Linked DNA regions of Homo sapiens: region 2 is linked to region 1. The links are contacts of gene promoters, found by promoter capture Hi-C in blood cells and fetal thymus (Javierre and others, 2016). All regions are on one chromosome and are shown on one strand. The core of a region is centred on a gene start or on the middle of the fragment in contact, and the rest is flanking DNA. Distances in the headings are between cores, read along the strand shown. Region 1 holds the start of TMEM102 (transmembrane protein 102). Region 2 overlaps FXR2 (FMR1 autosomal homolog 2).

Region 1 (6,256 bases), core at 1,198-3,697:
GTGGCTATTAAAATGTATATTAGGCCTGGTGCAGTGGCTTACACCTGTAATCCCAGCACTTTGGGAGGCCGAGGTGGGCGGATCACCTGAGGTCAGGAGTTCGAGACCAGCCTGGCCAACATGGTGAAACCCCGTCTCTATAAAAATACAAAAATTAGCCGGGCATGGTGGTACACGCATGTAATCCCAGCTATTCGGGAGGCTGAGGCAGGGAGAATCACTTGAACCTGGGAGGCGGAAGTTGTGGTGAGCCGAGATCGCACCATTGCACTCCAGCCTCGGTGACACAGCAAGACTCTGTCTCAAAAAAAAAAAAAAAAAAAAAAGTAGATGTTACTGCGGAACACATTTTTAAATTTTGTTTAATTTTAATTTACATTTTCTTTTTTTCTTTTTCTTTTTTTCTTTTTTTTGAGACAGAGTCTCGCTCTGTCACCCAGGCTGGAGTGCAATGGCGCGATCTCGGCTCACTGCAACCTCTGCCTCCCAGGTTCAAGCAAGCGATTCTCCTGCCTCAGCCTCCTGAGTAGCTGGGATTACATGCGTGCACCACCACGCCCAGCTAATTTTTGTCTTTTTAGTAGAGATGGGGTTTCACCATGTTGGCCAGGCTAGTCTCGAACTCCTGACCTCAAGTGATCCACCCGCCTCGGCCTCCCAAAGTGTTGGGATTACAGGCGTGAGCCAGGGCGCCTGGCCACATTATCTACATTTCAAGTGCTCAACAGCCACAGGTGGCTGCTGGTGGCTACTGTATCAGACAGGACCAACTCAGGACATTGCTATCGTCACAGAAAATTATATTGGAGAGCCATGCTTTAGAGTTTAGAGGAACTATTCCTTGTCACCCATTCTTAACATCTTCAAAGCTTCCACAGAGTCCAGAGAACTTAGTTCTTTTTAGAGTGCCTCGGAAGCCACCCTCTGGGAAGGAGGTGAGATGCAGGGATGTCTGATGCCTGGTTACTCCAGACTGTGAGAAACAGCCCAGTCTCCAGTTCTCCTGATCTGGCCTCTTGGGTCACAGCCAGATGTGTGTGTACGGGAACCTACTTGCGCAGTTCTGGGCTGCTTTGGTGCTCTCGCTTCTCCCAGGGACCCCAGCTCTGGTTGCTGAAGGAGAAAACTCTCTGTCAGTGACGAGGAACCCCTGAGTCCTGGGCTTGCCAAATTGATCTCTACAGTTGGGGAGTCTCTTCTTTTACAGGCCTCTAATTTTCCTAGATGTCCTCCTTAATTATCTTATCCATGGACTTAGGCCTATCCCGTCCTGGAGACAGACCAAGGGCAGAAGGAATGTAAGAAGTCGTGGCCCAGGCCGGGTGCAGTGGCGCGTGCCTATAATCCCAACACTTTGGGAGGCCGAGGTGGGAGGATCACCTGAGGTCAGGAGTTCAAGACCAGCCTGGCCAACATGGTGAAACCCTGTCTCTACTAAAAATACAAAAAATTAGCCAGGTATGGTGGCAGGCGCCGTAATCCCAGCTTCTCGGGAGGCTGAGGCAGGAGAACTGCTTGAACCCGGGAGGTGGAGGTTGCAGTGAGCGGAGATTGCGCCACAGCACTCCAGTCTGGGCAACAGTGCGAGACTCAGTCTCAAAAACAAAACAAAACAAAACAAAAATTTGAGATCCCAAAGTGTTTTCCCTGCCACGACTCAGGTAGCAGTGAGCTGAGGTGGGCATCACTAACATGTATGTCTCTCCTATGAGTCAAACGTCCATTTCTGGGTCACCATCTGTGTGCTCCTGCCTAACACTACCACTTTTGGGATTCCAAGATGCACCCCCCCCACCCCACCCAGGCAGGGGTCCCTATCTCTCCCCAGGCCCTAGGGTGGAGTTTCGCTCTTATCACCCAGGCTGGAGTGCAATGGCACAATCTCAGCTCACTGCACCCTTTCCCTCCTAGGTTCAAGTGATTCTCCTGCCTCAGCCTCCTAAGTAGCTGGGATTACAGGCGTCTGCCACCACGCCCGGCTAATTTTTGTATTTTTAGTAGAGACAGGGTTTCGCAATGTTGGCCAGGCTGGCCTTGAACTCCTGACCTCAGGTGATTCACCCGCCTCAGTCTCCCAAAGTGCTGGGGTTACAGGCGGGAGCCACCGCGCCCGGCCCATCCCTCATTATTTTTTGCGACTCAGAGCCATCCTATTACCCCTCTCAAACCCCAAGGAATGTTTGAGTGGGGTTGATATGGGTGTGAAAAGACACAGAATAATCTGTCTCCAGAGGAACTACAACTTCCATCAGGCACTACTTCAGCGGAACAGGAAAGGATGTGGGGGCGTGGCTACCACGCCCTAGTAGAGCGGGAAACTACAACTCCCAGGATAACGCGGGATTTCAGCAGGGCCAAAAGAGTGATTGAGCTCTGACTGGCGACCCGACCCGGCGGAAACCACCTCGACAGCCTCCAGAAAGGGGCGTGGCTGAAAATGTAGGGGCGTGGCCACGTGGGCATCAGGAAGAAGTAACCTGTTGAATCTATTTCTGCTCCCCACCCTTACTGCTTCCCATAAGGGGGAAGCCGCAGACTAATAAGCCTCTTCCAAAAAAGAGGTAAAGGGAGGTAGACAAGGGGCGGCAGCGGAGGCTGGCTACTGCATTCCGTAGGAGGAGCCAACAGTTACTTTTTACCTGCTGAGTCCGGTGAACCAGTTCATGGGGGCGGGGACCTGCCTATGAGAAAAGGGCCAGGATAGAAGAGGTATTTATTTGTTCATTTTGAGGACTAAATTTAGAACCCATCATCTACAGACCCATTTGTAGGTTGTGTCTGGGGCACTCGCTCGGCCTCAGGAAGAGGGAAGAACGGGGACGACTTTGTGGCAGCAAAGCCACCTCCCTTCCGTGTTTTCCGCAGCCCAAAGCGATAGAACCGCATGGCTTCCGCAGTCTGGGGGAGTGCCCCCTGGTGGGGCCCGCCGCCCCCGGCCCCAGCTCGGCCGCTCACGGACATCGACTTCTGCTCCGGGGCGCAGCTGCAGGAATTGACCCAGCTGATCCAGGAGCTGGGTGTGCAGGAGAGCTGGAGTGACGGGCCCAAGCCGGGAGCCGATCTCCTCCGGGCCAAGGACTTTGTCTTCTCTTTGCTTGGTAAGTAACCCTACTTGCCTTTGGGAACTCACAGCTCTCAGCCTCACCACGCCCCCGCCCCCGCCCCGGCTTTGGGCGACGCCCTCACGATCCGTTCCCTTTTTTTAGGTCTAGTTCACCGCCGGGACCCTCGCTTTCCTCCCCAGGCAGAGCTCTTGCTGCTTCGTGGTGGGATTCGCGAGGGCTCCCTGGATCTGGGGCATGCACCCCTGGGTCCCTACGCCCGGGGACCTCACTACGATGCCGGCTTCACACTCCTAGTGCCCATGTTTTCACTGGACGGCACTGAACTGCAACTGGACCTGGAATCCTGTTACGCACAGGTCTGCCTCCCAGAGATGGTGTGCGGAACCCCCATCCGGGAGATGTGGCAGGATTGCTTAGGACCCCCAGTCCCAGGAGCACGTGATTCGATCCACCGAACGGAGAGCGAAGAAAGTTCCAAGGACTGGCAAAGCTCTGTAGACCAGCCGCACAGCTACGTCACTGAGCACGAGGCGCCGGTGTCTTTGGAAAAATCGCCTAGTGACGTTTCAGCGTCCGAGTCGCCTCAGCATGACGTCGTCGACCTTGGCTCTACCGCACCTTTGAAAACAATGAGTAGTGACGTCACCAAGGCAGCCGTCGAAAGCCCAGTCCCAAAGCCGTCGGAGGCTCGGGAAGCGTGGCCCACATTATGTTCCGCCCAGGTGGCTGCCTGGTTCTTTGCTACGCTGGCGGCGGTCGCCGAGTCTCTGATCCCTGTCCCGGGTGCTCCGCGTCTGGTGCACGCAGCTCGCCACGCGGGTTTCACCACCGTCCTCCTGGCTACCCCTGAGCCCCCTCGCCGCCTCCTGCTCTTCGACCTGATCCCAGTGGTGTCCGTGGCGGGCTGGCCCGAGGGGGCTCGGAGCCACTCGTGGGCCGGTCCGCTGGCCTCTGAGTCGGCTTCCTTCTACCTGGTGCCCGGTGGCGGCACCGAGCGGCCGTGCGCCTCCGCCTGGCAGCTCTGTTTTGCCCGCCAGGAGCTGGCGCTCAAAGCGCGCATACCAGCGCCGCTGCTGCAGGCGCACGCGGCGGCCCAGGCGCTACTGCGCCCGCTGGTGGCCGGGACCCGGGCGGCGGCGCCCTACCTCCTGCGGACGCTGCTGTACTGGGCGTGCGAGCGGCTGCCTGCGCTCTACCTGGCGCGGCCAGAAAATGCGGGCGCCTGCTGCCTCGGGCTGCTAGACGAGCTCGGCCGAGTGCTCGAGGCCGGGACGTTGCCTCACTATTTTCTGAACGGCCGACAGCTCCGTACGGGGGACGACTCCGCTGCGCTGCTCGGAGAATTGGCCCGGCTCCGCGGGGACCCGGCCCGGGCCCTCCGTGCCGCGGTGGAGGAGGCCAAAGTGGCCCGCAAGGGGGGCGGTTTGGCGGGCGTGGGGGGCGGGGCCCATTAAAGACGCTGTTCCTACCAGTGGAAAGTGCCTCTGTGGGCGAGCGGGACGTGGGGGGCCCTGCTCGCCCCTCGCCAGGGGGACTGACTGTGTGCCCTGGGCCTGAAGCCCCCCTTCTGGAAGACCTCCCTGTTGGTTCCTCCTCTACGCCCACCCGCCTGCCCCCGCACAAGTTGCCCCATTCCAGCCTCGCTATTCTCCACATCTGTGGCCAGCACTCCGCCCAGGGGCAGCTTCCAGAAACCGTCTGTCCCCAGTTCTTTTGGTCATTTCTCTTAAGGGCCAATAGAAATGGGAGAAACATATTTGCTGACCAAACGCGAAAAGGAGTTATGGAGACCAGGGTCTGATCAATTTGGCTCACACAACGGCAGAGATATGAAGGAGGCCGGATTTCGCCCAAGGCTGGATCTCACCACCCCCCATCCTCCATCTCTCCAGTTCTTCCCCCACTTTACTCGTGCGGTTCTTTCTTCACTAACATCCCGGCCAGTAGGGTCTCTCTCCCTTCTCCCAGCGTCCGCCATTCCATCTCCCTTAGGCCCAACCTCTCCTTCCTACCCAGGGGTGCGTTCAGGAGGCCTTCCTGTCCCTCCTCCTCTGAAGGCTGAGACGTGCGGCCTTGCCTCGGCTTTGCCTGCTTGTAAGACACAGTCCGCACTCTCTACCTCCAAGGAACCCCGGGGTTCCTCCTGCCCGGCTTCACCCTCCTATTTCCCAGCGTCTCCGCCCCCTGCCCCGCCCCCGGGCCGGCTCTCCGAGGAGGGGGAACTGCTGTCGCCGCCGCCGCCGCCGCCTCAGCTTCCCACAGCCGCTGCCGCTGCCGCCGCTCTGCCTGGTCCAGCCACCGGCCCAGTGCTCTGACTTCGCCGGACCGGGGAGCTCTGCAGAGACACCCTCACTCCTTCCCGAGGGTCCGGGACGCCTAGCCGGGCGTGGGGGGAAGCTCCGTTTGCGGGGGACAGGGAGGGAGGAGCCTGGAGCCGAAGCCAGCGCCACCCGTCGCCGGATCAACAGGACAGGACAGGTTGAGGGGCGTCGGGAAAAGGAAGAGGGGGTGCTATAGGCAATCCCGGGGAGGACGAGGAAGCCCTGTAGCAGGAAGCTGTGATCCGCTCTGACTTGTAGGGGGCCTGTTCACATCTGGGGACTGGTGACAACGTGGGTGCACTCCTCTCTTGGGGGGCTGGTTAGATTGGAGGGCGTGGGATCTAAACAGCACCAGCTGTCCCCAAGAAAATTTAAGGGGCAGCCAGGGGAGAAAAAAACAAAAACAAAAACAAACACGGATGCTCCTCATTTTGAGGTGGCGGAAGGCCCTCCAGTCAACTACCTGGTGTATCCACTAGGAAGGGTGGATTTGGAGGTGACTTCAAAAGGAGCGGAGGGTGTGAAGGTGAAGAAAGGGTCTTGGCCGCTAGAATTCTATGCTACTAGACATGGGGGGGACTTGGTGAAAAAGGTATTATCCAGCCAGAGGGTCTGGGAGCCCTGTCTTACTGAACCTGGGCAACCTGGATATTCTGAGACATATTTTGGGGGGATTTCAGTGAAAAAAGTGGGGGATCCCCTCCATTTAGAGTGTAGCAAAGGAAAAAACACCAAGGTTGGGTTCCTTCCTGACATTGGCAGTGCCCCAGTAGGGGTGGGATGAGCGAATATTCCCAAAGCTAAAGTCCCACACCCTGTAGATTACAAGAGTGGATTTGGCAGGAGTGTGCCCCAAAATACAGTGGAAAG
Region 2 (6,095 bases), core at 2,193-4,692, 170 kb after region 1:
GGTCAGGAGTTTGAGACCAGCCTGACCAACATGGAGAAACCCTGTCTCTACTAAAAATACAAAATTAGCCGGGTGTGGTGGTGCATGCCTGTAATCCCAGCTACTCGGGAGGCTGAGGCAGGAGAATCGCCTGAACCTAGGAGGTGGAGGTTGCGGTGAGCCGAGATTGTGCCACTGCACTCCAGCCTGGGCAACAAGAGCAAAACTCTGTCTCCAAAAAAAAAAAAAAAAGAAAGAAAGGAAAAGAAAAGAAGAGGGACCACAGTTAAAGAACAAGGATGGGAAAATAAAGAAACTAAGTGTCTTCTTAGCAAGAAGGGCTCTAGTAGAGGGCCAGGGGAACAACAGAGAAAACTGCAAAGTGGGAGTGATGCCTGGGAGAAATAAAGCCAGAGATTAGGGCTGTAAAGAGGGCCCTCATTCCCACCATCCTTAACACTCACGCTTCTCTCAGATCCTCGGGCACAGCCATGGTAACCTTGAAGAAGCTGCCTTTGGTTGCAAGGGGATTGGGATTAACTGGCCGAAGTCGCTCCAGGGTAACAATTTCATTGTAGGTGGCATCACAGGCAGCATATTCAATGACATAGAACTGGCACATGGTAAAAAAGGAGAAGTTGTGGATGACCTGAGCAACTTTCTATGAATAACATATTTGTTTCAGTAGTTCTCCAAAGGCATTCCCAGTCACTCACATCTCCCTTCATCATCCGCACCCGGGCCAGCCACCAGCCACAAGGTTCCTGTTCATTGGCTCGAGAATAAACCTAAAGAAAAGTAGAGAATCAAAGAGATATTGAAGACCACCCAAAAGCATCAAGAAAGGGATGAGGAGGCCGGGCATGGTGGGGCTCACACCTGTAATCTCAGCGCTTTGGGAGGCTGAGGCAAAAGGACTGCTTATGCCCAGGAGTTCAAGACCAGCTTGGGCAACATAAACAATAGAACAACCATTAAGATATTTGGGGCTGCTGGGCACAGTGGCTCAAGCTTATAATCCCAGCACTTTGGAAGGCCAAGGTGGGAGGATCTCTTGAGCTCAGGAGTTCAAGAACGATCTGGGCAACACAGTGAGACCCCACTTCCACGAAAAAAAAAGAGGCCAAGCGCGGTGGCTTATGCCCATAATCCCAGGACTTTGGCTGAGGTGGGCTGATCACCTGAAGTCAGGAGTTCAAGACCAGCCTGGCCAACATGGTAAAACCCCACCTCTACTAAAAATACAAAAATTAGCCGGGTGTGGTGCCACATGCCTGTACTCCAAGCTACACAGGAGGCTGAGGCAGGAGAATCACTTGAACCAGGAGGTGGAGGTTGCAGTGAGCTGAGACCGCGCCACTGCACTCCAGCTTGGGCAACAGAGTGAGACTTCATCTCAAAAAGAAAAAAAAGGTATTTGGGATGCATCTTTTTTTTTTTTTTTTTGAGACAGAGTTTCGCTCTTGGTGCTCAGGCTGGAGTGCAATGGCACAATCTCAGCTCACTGCAACCTCCACTTCCTGGGTTCAAGCGATTCTCCTGCCTCAGCCTCCCAAGTAGCTGGGATTATAGGCGCCCGCCACCACGCCCAGCTAATTTTTTGTATTTTTAGTAGAGATGGGGTTTCATCATGTTGGCCAGGCTGGTCTTGAACTCCTGACCTCAGGTGATCTGCCCCACTCGACCTCTCAAAGTGCTGGGATTTCAGGTGTGAGCCACTGCATCCAGCCTGGGATGTATCTTAAACCAAGGATACAAGAAACCAGAGGAAGGAACTAATTAAAATCAGAGGACGGCAGGGCATGGTGGCTCATGCCTGTAATCCCAGCACTTTGGGAAGCTGAGGCGGGTGGATCACCTGAAGTCAGAAATTCAAGACTAGCCTGGCCAACATGGTGAAACCATGTCTTTACAAAAATGCAAAAATTACCCGAGCATGATGGCAGGTGCTTGTAATCCCAGCTACTTGGGAGGCTGAGGTGGAAGAATTGCTTGAACCCAAGAGGCGGAGGTTGCAGTTAGCTGAGATCGCGCCACTGCACTCCAGCCTGGGCAACAGAGCAAGACTCCATCTCAAAACAACAACAACAACAACAACAAAAAAATCAGAGGGCACTGGATTTTAGATGTTGTTACCATAAATGGAAGGCAAATCGCCTGAAACTGGGGATGTTCCTGAGAGTTTGGCTGATCACAACAGTGATAAAAGGGGAACTGTTGCATTTTACATTTCCATAGGCTACATGGCTGGATATGGCTTAGTTGGGGAGGAAGGAACATGAACCAACCAGAGAAAAGCCTAGAATCCTGGGGAAAAGTGACATTTAGAAAGGTGTACTCCACAGCCCTTACCTCCACTTCATCCCCTTCTGTGATCTCCTTATTATAGTCAGCTGGAGGTGGTAGCCGGACATCCCCAAAAGGAATTTGTCTCTCACTCTGCCAGCTATAATAGAAACAATAATATGAAAAAGCTACTCTGACTGATATGGTTGCCCATTTCTTTACAAAAGGGTTATTGCCTCAGCTGGGCGAGTTCCACCTATCTGGATAATTAGAGGCTAAACCCCAGGCCCTGCTCCATAGTAGTGTCTTCCATCTCTTTCTAGACTCTAAATACTGGGTCAAATGCCCCCACCCTCACCAAATTCTCAGCCCTTTCCTCTCCTGGGATCCATATGAGTTCCCACCCAAACCCTCAGCTCTCCCAACCTATTACATGCCTCATAGGACTCAGCTGCCCCCTCTTCTCCACTCTCCTTCTAGGACCTAGTATGCTGGATTCTCTATTCCCAAGGTCTTACTTGTTTTCAAAGAAGATGGTGACAGAGTCTTCATGGACATCCTTCACAAAGCCCTAGAATGGATTTTAGAAAAAAGCAAAAAAAATAAAATGACCTTTTACTTCCACCTTAGCCATCAAGGGAATAAGACACCACAAAACCTTAAACTTGAGTTTTAGATAGGGACACAAGTGGTGTAATGAGACAGCCTGAAAGGCTGCACTGGGGAAAGAATATGGGCAGTCAAACAGAGAAAGGAAATGATATTGTCATGGAGAGGTGTATGTACCACCTGCATCAGAACAGCCTGGAAACCAATGATCTACTCAGGCTCCCACAGGGGCCTCCCTATCTGTCTGCCTCCTGTTGTGCTAAGCAGCCTGCCAGAGTTCAATTAAAATACCAACAACATTCAGCAAGGCTAAGAATATCCCATGAGACAGTGTGAGGCTGTCCTGGAACACCTAGAGGACATGAGGATCTGTCGAGAGAGAAGGGCCTACCTCCGCAATACAGCAAGAGATCTGAGCAGACTCGCTGCCCTGATGCATGGGTCCTAAGACAATAATCGGAACACTAGACAAGTTCAAAATTGTGATGAACACAATTTACAGAAGGAAAAATTAAGACTTAATTTAAAAACATCGGTTTTTTAATACTAGAATTGAATCTAGAATGACACTGATAATTTATAAAGGATAATAAAATTTATGGAAGACTCCAATCTTGATATTTTGACAAGAGCAAGAGGGATGACTGAACAGCTGATCCACCTCCTGTGGTCTGTGTCCTCACTAAGGAGGCCAAAGCCATGCATTCACCCCTATGCTCCCAATTTTTCTACCTTCTCCCTATTTTTCACATACAATTAGGGATTTCTAATTTTGAAAAAGGTCTAGCTTATGAATTTATTATTTTATCAACTGTGCTTTTGGTTTCATATCTAAGAAATCTTTGCCCAGGCCAGGCACAGTGGCTCACGCCTATAATCCCAGCACTTTGGGAGGACGAGGCAGGCAGATCACCTGAGGTCAGGAGTTCGAGACCAGCCTGCCAACATGGTGAAACCCCGTCTCTACTAAAAATACAAAAATTAGCCAGGTGTGGTGGTGCATGTCTGTAATCCCAGCTATTTGGGAGGCTGAGGAAAGAGAATCACTTGAACCTGAGAGTCAGAGGTTGCAGTGAGCCAAGATCATGCCATTGCACTCCAGCCTGGGCAACAAGAGCAAAACTCCATCTCAAAAAAAAAAAAAAGAAAAAGAAAAAGAAATCTTTGCCTAATCCAAGGCCACAAAGGTTTTCTCTTATGTCTTCTTCTTAAACTTTTAGTTTTTTGTTTTACATTTACATCTATAATCCTTTATTTTTAGACAGAGTCTCACTCTGTCACCCAGGCTGGAGTGTAATGGCGCAATCTTGGCCCACTGCAACCTCCACCCCCCGGGTTCAAGCAATTCTCCTGCCTCAGCCTCACGAGTAGCTGAGATTACAGGCAACCGCCACCACACCAGGCTAATTTTTTATATTTTTAGTAGAGACGGGGTTTCACCATCTTGGCCAGGTTGGTCTCGAACTCCTGACCTCAGGTGATCCATCTGCCTCAGCCTCCCAAAGCTGGAATTAAAGATGTGAGCCACTGTGCCCAGCCTATGATCCATTTTGAATTAAATTTTATATATAAGGTGAGGTATTGATCAATGTTTTTTAAATTTTTAAATTCTTATTTATTTTTTTGAGACAGAGTTTCGCTCTTGTTGCCCACGCTGGAGTGCAATGGTGCAACCTTGGCTCACCGCAACCTCCGCCTCCCAGGTTCAAGCAATTCTGCCTCAGCCTCCCAAGTAGCTGGGATTACAGGCATGGGCCACGACCCTGGCTAATTCTGTATTTTTAAGAGAGACAGGGTTTCTCCATGTTCGTCAGACTGGTCTCAAACTCCCGACCTCTGGTGATCCACCCGCCTCAGCCTCCCAAAGTGCTGGGATTACAGGTATGAACCATCGCACCAGGCCACTTTTTTTTATTTTTAATATATTTTTAAATTAAAATTTTTTTTTAATAGAGACAGGGTTTCGCTATGTTGCCCAGGCTGGTCTTGAACTCCTGGACTCAAGCAATGCACCCGCCTTAGCCTCCAAGAATGTTGGAATTACAGGTGTGACCACTGTGCCCAGCCCATTTTTTACCTAAAGATATCTTGTTCCAGCACTGTCTGTTGAAGACTATCCTTTCTGGCCAGGGGCGGTAGCACACGCCTGTAATCCCAACACTGGGAGGCCGAGGCTGGCAGATCAGCTGAGGCCATGAGTTCGAGACTAGTCTGGCCAATATGGCAAAATCCCATTGCTACTAAAAAAAAAAAAAAATAATAATAATAATAATATATAAATTAGCCAGGCGTGGTGGCACATGGCTGTAACCTCAGTTATTCAGGGTGGCTGAGGCATGAAAATCACTTGAAGCCAGGAGTTAGAGACTGCAGTCAGTCAAGATCATGCCATCGCACTGCAGCCTGGACAACAGGGCAAACTCTGCCTCAAAAAAAAAAAAAGAAGAAAAGAAGAAAAGAAAAGACAAGACTATCCTTTCTTAGCTGAATTGAACTGCCTTTTCATTTCTATCGAAAATCAGGAAGGGCAATTTAATGTATAATGACAGAAGATTGGTAGTTGATGGAGGACTTTTGGGAGTGACAGAAATGTTCATTCCTTTGATTGCAGTGATGGACTCAGTTACATACATGTCAAAACTTAACAAATGGCACACTTTAAATATGTCTACTTTGTTGTATGTCAATTTCAGCTCAATAAAGATGTTTTTTAAAAAAATTAGAGAGCCCATACAACACAGGGAAACCTCATCTCTGCAAAAAATTTATAAATTAGCAGGGTATGATGGCTTGTGCCTGTAGTCCCAGCTATTTAGGAGGCTAAGGTGGGAGGATCACTTGAGCCAGGGAGGTCGAGGCTGTGATGAGCTGTGATTGCACCACTGCACTCCATAGCTTGGGCAACACAGCAAGACCGTGACTCAAAAAACAAAATAAATAAACAAAAATAAAAGAATTAGAGGTTTCAAAAGGCTAATACACAAGAACTATTCATGAGCTTTGCTGCTAGGGACAAAGGCTAAGCTTAGGAGAGAAAACACCAAAAATGCCCTTGGCAAATGCACAGCTCCCACCTCATAGAACTAATCAATCACAAACACTTACCAGATTGCTATTTCCTTACGATGGGAAAATCTAAGCCTGCATTTCACTCTTCATACAAGCCACCTTTCTCGTCTTTAGGGATATGTCTTGCTATAGAGGCTGCAGTCAGTCAAGAT

The links. The method cuts DNA at HindIII sites, captures the fragments that hold promoters and counts their contacts. A CHiCAGO score of 5 or more calls a contact.
Region 2: a contact is called between a fragment that was not itself captured here and the fragment with the promoter of TMEM102 in region 1, in 7 of 17 cell types (total B cells, total CD8 T cells, naive CD4 T cells and 4 more). The highest score is 7.7, in total B cells.

The regions. Positions count from the first base shown.
Region 1 is chr17:7,432,988-7,439,243 of GRCh38, forward strand. It overlaps TMEM102 (transmembrane protein 102), which reads left to right and starts at 2,448. Exons shown (of 3, transcript NM_178518.3): 1 at 2,448-2,709; 2 at 2,866-3,098; 3 at 3,207-4,692. The coding sequence starts at 2,885. The coding sequence ends at 4,519. It also overlaps a transcript of FGF11 not described here. RefSeq lists enhancers at 2,132-2,301, 3,353-4,262, 5,059-5,158, 5,173-6,081 and silencers at 3,998-4,277, 5,249-5,348. The HindIII fragment of the contact is 10,292 bases long and covers 868-6,256 here.
Region 2 is chr17:7,603,314-7,609,408 of GRCh38, forward strand. It overlaps FXR2 (FMR1 autosomal homolog 2), which reads right to left. Exons shown (of 17, transcript NM_004860.4): 2 at 2,784-2,836; 3 at 2,332-2,425; 4 at 696-767; 5 at 444-592. Among named protein-coding and RNA genes, the nearest start is that of FXR2, 8.5 kb to the right of the region's middle. The HindIII fragment of the contact is 4,908 bases long and covers 989-5,896 here.